2 separate regions of the Homo sapiens genome follow, and region 2 is linked to region 1. The links are contacts of gene promoters, found by promoter capture Hi-C in blood cells and fetal thymus (Javierre and others, 2016). All regions are on one chromosome and are shown on one strand. The core of a region is centred on a gene start or on the middle of the fragment in contact, and the rest is flanking DNA. Distances in the headings are between cores, read along the strand shown. Region 1 holds the start of CSTF2 (cleavage stimulation factor subunit 2). Region 2 overlaps FAM199X (family with sequence similarity 199, X-linked).

Evidence for each region. The method cuts DNA at HindIII sites, captures the fragments that hold promoters and counts their contacts. A CHiCAGO score of 5 or more calls a contact.
Region 2: a fragment that was not itself captured here is called in contact with the fragment with the promoter of CSTF2 in region 1 in 3 of 17 cell types (non-activated CD4 T cells, fetal thymus and naive CD4 T cells); the score reaches 8.4 in non-activated CD4 T cells.

The regions. Positions count from the first base shown.
Region 1 is chrX:100,818,814-100,821,866 of GRCh38, forward strand. CSTF2 (cleavage stimulation factor subunit 2) reads left to right here and starts at 1,578. Exons shown (of 14, transcript NM_001325.3): 1 at 1,578-1,661; 2 at 2,714-2,792. The coding sequence starts at 1,604. RefSeq lists enhancers at 1,250-1,309, 1,320-1,369, 1,650-1,809. The HindIII fragment of the contact is 13,366 bases long and covers 1-1,684 here.
Region 2 is chrX:104,166,864-104,169,916 of GRCh38, forward strand. FAM199X (family with sequence similarity 199, X-linked) reads left to right here. Exons shown (of 6, transcript NM_207318.4): 1 at 1-119. Among named protein-coding and RNA genes, the nearest start is that of FAM199X, 1.9 kb to the left of the region's middle. The HindIII fragment of the contact is 1,720 bases long and covers 758-2,477 here.

The sequences.
Region 1 (3,053 bases), core at 328-2,827:
CCCTGGAGTCCCATTCCATAGGGCTGGGGTGGAGCCCCAGGAATCTATACTCTTACTCAAAGACCCCAGGTTAATCTTTTGTTTATGTAAGTTTGCCAAACACTGAGTTAGAAATATACTCAGCCGTACATGCATTTAGCAAAAGTTCACCACAACGGAACAATGACACACCAAAACTCTTTGAAACTGTGCCTTCTACAGAGCTGTAAATCTCCTTTTGGACCATTCCATTACACAAGGTGTCCTCTTGGTCACACAGTGATTGCAAATGGGACTCTAGAGTCATGGAAATGGGTATACTCTTCTCAAACTTTCCATCTTTACCAGAATTACTTCTTAAAGTGATATGCTTCATGGTGTAAACTAGCACTTATTAATTTTTTCTAAATATTTATCATATTTCATATACTTTTATTTTGGAGATGGAGTTTCGCTCTTGTTGCCCAGGCTGGAGCGCAATGGCAGATCTCGGATCACCGCAACATCCATCTCCCGGGTTCAAGCGATTCTCTGGCCTCAGCCTCCTGAGCAGCTGGGATTACAGGCATGCGCCACCACGCCCGGCTAATTTTGTATTTTTAGTAGAAAAGGGGTTCTCCATGTTGGCCAGGCTGGTCTCCAACTCCCGACCTCAGGTGATGCGCCCGCCTCGGCCTCCCAAAGTGTTGGCATTACAGGCATGAGCCACCGCGCCCGGCCCATATACTTTTAATACATGTGGAATTAATAAAAACGTCCATGCCTCCAATTCCGTGGCTATTTTACCGTCTTCCTTTTTCGGACAAGTCCCTCAAAGGTAGCGCTCTTGGCTCCTTCCTTTGCTTATCCCCTAACCCTGTCCTCCTGAGGTGCCCCCTGGATTTCCTCCAACCCCGGCAGGGTCTGCCTTTCCGGGATGATACAACGACCTGCCCTGCATGCCATATCCCAGGCGCGTGGGCACCAAAGTGTGGAAAAACCGATGAATGACGTTTTCTGTTTCCGATACTCTGCCTGCCAGAATCCCCTGCCGCACCGCCCCACCACGAAGCACATGGAACCCACGGACTACACGAGGACAGAGGTCTGTTCTCCCTTTACCTCTCCCATTTCTTTAACTATGCTTCTCTCGGCTGGCATGCCCTTTCCTCATCTCACTCCACACACGAACAGGTTTAGCAAATAATATGCACGCTGCTGGGACGGGCCCAAGCATTTCCCTCCCTTGATAGGGCGGAACTAAAATGCAAGCCCCACAGTTGTCAGCAAAGGACTTCCCTGTTACCATGGTAAAGCCGCTGCGCCTTTATTGTGGTTGAGGAGTACTTGCATCAACCTAAGAGAAAATTAATAAGAAGGAAGTCTGCAGGCTGAAACCCTTCAAATTAGCCTGGACTCGCCTGCATCTGGCTCGGAACAGAGTTAATCTCAGGAGTGAGAATATAGCCCTCCGGTGGACGCAACTCGCGCCTGCGGCTAACAGAATGTCTCCAGGGGAGGGGCTCTGCGTCCGTTCCGCCCAGGCCCTTCCGGCTCACGCGCCGTACGGAAGCGTGCTCAGCGCTGGGCTTGTGCTCCGTACGGAAGTGTGCTTTGGCGCACCGGAAGCCGACTCAACAGAGCTATGGCGGGTTTGACTGTGAGAGACCCAGCGGTGGATCGTTCTCTACGTTCTGTGTTCGGTGAGAGGAATTCGTTGTAGTCAAGCTTCGGGGAGGGACTCCCCTCTGCACCTTCTATCTCATGAATCGCTACCGGAGCCGCTGACGGTTCGGACGTGCAGTTCTCCCTGCTTATCCTGTAGGGCGTCCAACCTGGTGGACTCATGAGCAAAGAGATATTCCCATTCTGCCGAGGTCTCGTAGGCTTTCCGCAATATCAGTGGGGAAGTTAGACTAGCGTTCAGCTTCTGTGCGTTTCTCCTTTCATGAGCTTCAATTATTCTCTAGAGGAGAAGGCTCACGGTAACAGCTCCTCACTGTCCCGTACTACTTCTCATCCTCTGCCCCAGAATACAGACTATATGCTGAGGGTATAGATCCTAGTGTCCACTTACTGTCCTCTCCTAAGGACTTTCATCCTTTGCTTTTTATCTGTAACATTTTAGTGCATCAATAGTGGTAGCGGCCACCTGGTGTCCTGAGATGGCTTGTAAGTGAATGAATGAATGAACTATTAAGATCTCCTCAGAGGAATTTTAAAAAGGATCGAAACGATTCTGAATTATCTTTTTGGCTGAAATAAGTTGTTTTTAAAAATACGTGTGATTATTTTAGAGTACCATTTGAAAGGGACATGACAAAGTAGTTCAGAATACTTTTTAAACATCTTTCACTACATTCATCGTCATTCTCCCTTAAATGTTGTATGTGTGGAAATACATAGGAACCTGTTTTAAAAATTATATTAAATAACATTGATATTTTTTGTAGTCACTGATGAGACTTGCAGATCTTTAGGTAAATACCAGTGCCAAAGTATTTATTTGCACCAAAGTTAAGGAAAATCTAACACGTGTCAGATCAGTCTGAGAACTAACATTTGAGAGTACCTACACATTTTGTATTTAGTTTCAGTGGTATATTTCCTTTGTTAAGAGGTCTGAAGAAATACAATGGAATTGGGATTGGAGAACACTATTTTGAGTCTTATATTTGATGATATAAGTTTACTTTCTCACTAAAGATCTATGTTATAAACTCAGAATTTTAATGTTACCTATTTTCTTCCTTAGTGGGGAACATTCCTTATGAAGCTACTGAAGAGCAGTTGAAGGACATCTTTTCTGAGGTTGGACCTGTTGTTAGTTTCAGGTGAGATCCCCTTTTCCTTCATGGTGGGAGCTTCTTAAAAATCACCACAGATTTGGCTCTTAGTAATAATGGCAGGTTTTCTTTACTGGTGACTTTTCACATACATTTTGTTCTTGTAACAGCTTTATTGAGATATAATTGATACACTATACAATTGACATTTATTCTTACCTAAAATATGTTTTTTTCGTTAAAAATGTTTTTTAGGCAGGGCATAGTGACTCAAGCCTGTAATCCCAGCACTTTGGGAGGCCGAGGCAG
Region 2 (3,053 bases), core at 368-2,867, 3.3 Mb after region 1:
CCTCGCGGGGTGGGCACCTGCCCGAGCGAGGAGCCGGGCTGCCTGGACATCAGCGACTTCGGCTGCCAGCTGTCCTCCTGCCATCGCACCGACCCGCTCCACCGCTTCCACACCAACAGGTACGAACTGCACCTGAGGGCAGGGGTGGATTTTCCACTTCTGGTCGCCCCCCGCTCCTGATCCTTCGTCCCGGGCTGCGCTTCCAGTCGCCCCCTCCCCCACCTGCTTTCGACCAGCGCTCATTCCCGGCCTCCTTCCCTGCCCCCCCTCCCTATTTTCACCCCTGCCCTCCTATTTTCCTTTCGACCGGCGTTTTACTCTCTTTTCCTCATTCATATTCTGGCTATAGCGACTCCTCCCTTCCCTACCTTCTCCCTCCCTTGCTTCCCTTCCCTCCCCCCATCTGTACCCTACGAATCCCAAACCCCCACCCTTGATTTTTAGATACGCCCCTGTTTGCATCCATCTGCAAAAGTTTAACCCCTTCCATTTCCGGTACGCTGTAGAGGAATTTGGATGGCTCAAGATCAATCCATAGATCTTTTGAAAAGTGGCGTTGAAAGGTGGAACATTTAAAGCTAGAAGCTTCATTTTCCCTATTTTTAATCTGTCTCACAGTCCTGTTCCCCCCGCCGCCACCACCCCTACCCCATTTTTTTTTTTAGTTGAGCGCTAGGAAACTAGTCGATTCTCTCTTTTTTTCCTCCTCCTTTATTAACTGTTTGCCTTAGCGCTTTAGGCTCTGCCAAAATTGGTAAGCTTAAATCTGGAGGATTCCTTCATATGACATATCCCTTGGTTTCCTTCCCCTTTGAAGAGACAGAGTAAGGCTTAGGATGGACTGACTTACACAAATTTATTCAGAGGGTGTATCTCCTCCTAACTGATTTCAGTAGAAGGTAGTGTTCTGGAGACTTCTCTCATGCAAGCATTTACGTGTTAGATCAAATCTTGGGGGGTGGGTTGAAGACGTTCTAGATACAGCCTCAAGTTTTAACATAGGTGGATATTTGAGATACATATACAAAGGGCTGGGGGGGTGTGTGGTTAAGGCTCTAGGAGAGGGGTTCAGCTATGGAAAATACTGGAGATAAATTAAGAAATCTAGTTCTGACTTCTGATCCAAGTTTATGATGTGAGTTTGATCAAATTCTTCCATATTTTAATGTCTTTAGCATATTTCTCCCCTCCCTTCCCTTAAATCAGTCTGTAGATTGAATGAGCTTCTACCAGATACAAGGAATGTGTAAAAGATGTTTCTTACATAAATGAAAGTTATAGTCTATGGAAACAAGGTGTTATAGTTAAATAATCAGAATATCAGTATAACACATCTCAAAAGGAAGTGGCAGTAAATTTATTATGACTACTCTAAATCGTCATTGCAAAAAATGAAGAAACAGGCCCAGAAAGAAAAGATTGAGTTCAAGGTCATAAAACCTAGTCAAGCAAATCCAAGACTATTCCTTTGAAGCCAATGATTAAACTTGGAGCAGAACTAATTGATCCAGTGTTACAAATAGAACTTATGGTTTCCTAGACCAACTCACAGAAGCCTATTTAACCCCTGATGTCACTGTAATGTGAATGTAACATATTCATGAAATCAAGTGTGCTTAGGGTTATTTATGTTGAAAAATAATGTAAAAGAATACCTTTGTACATATTTGGCATTTAAGTTTTGCAGCCTTGGAGCAAGTCACATACCCAGGAAAGTTAAATAATTTCAGAATGATCCTGCTGTGATGATGAGGGCAAGGGAGTGAGGGCAGAGGCTGTGGGTAAGTACTGCCAAAACTGGGTAGAGGTGATGGGGAGTGAAGTTATGAGAATAATATGTTTCTTACAACTTGTTCTGTTCCTTCCTCCTCCCCGTTTTTTCCTGTGTTTTCTTTCCCTTAAAGACTGTGGTGAGGTCAGGACTGTTTTTCAATGGGGCAGTGAGGAGGGGAGAAGGAGGTTCTTTGCAAGCCCCAGTTTTTCCAAGTCAAGCATTTTTCCTAGTTACTGCTTGCTTTTTTTTTTTTTTTTTTTAACTTCCCTCTCCTACCCTACTTTTCGCAAGGCTTGGCATGGTGGCAGGGGTTCTAATGCTCTGTATCCTTTTCAGCAGAGAGTAGGGGAAGCAAAATTAGCGATATTCACAGCACATGATGTTTCTGTCCTAGGCTACCTTGCCTTTTAAATGTATTATCCTTCTGCAATGTTCTGCTTTCTTACCCCTCCTCAAGATGGTGCTTGAGAGGACCATAGGCTTCCAGCCATTTCTTTTCAGGGAGAAGCACACAGCTAAATCATATATCGGGCAAAGTTTAGGGAGTTCTTTTATTTTGGAGTTGTATGTGTCACTTTTTTCCTTCACATCACATCATTTGTCAATTCAGGCAACAACCCAAAAATCAGATTTCAAATAGTTGAGTGCTGAAATTCTGCCTTGGGTTTAGTGATTGTAAAACAAATTTTCATTGGAAGTAGGAAGCTTGTTAATTGGTAGATATTTGACTTAACCTTAATTTTGCTTCCTTCTTGGTACCTGATAAGAAAAATGTGGAGATTTTAAAAATAATGCACTTGATAAGGACCTTATGATTATGACAATTTTGTGCCTACTCATTTACTGGATTCTGGGCTATATTTGCAATTTTCATTAACAAAGACAGTCACAGCACTAACAGTCCCTGAGGTTGAATGGTTGCAATATTCAGATTTTTTTTTTTCTTTAAAGACAGAGTCCTGCTCTGTCATCCAGGCTAGAGTGCAGTTGCACAATCTTGGCTTAGGGCAACCTCCGCCTCCTGGGTTCGAGCGATTCTCCTGCCTCAGCCTTCTGAGTAGCTGGGACTATAGGCGTGTACCACTATGCCTGGCTAATTTTTATATTTTTAGTAGAGACAGGGTTTCACCATGTTGGCCAGGCTGATCTTGAACTCCAGACCTCAGGTGGTCCACCCACGTTGGCCTCCCAAAGTGCTGGGATTACAGGTGTGAGCCACCGCGCCCGGCCCAGTATTCAAATTAAAGTCATTTGTGATGTAGGTTGGTATGTCACTGGT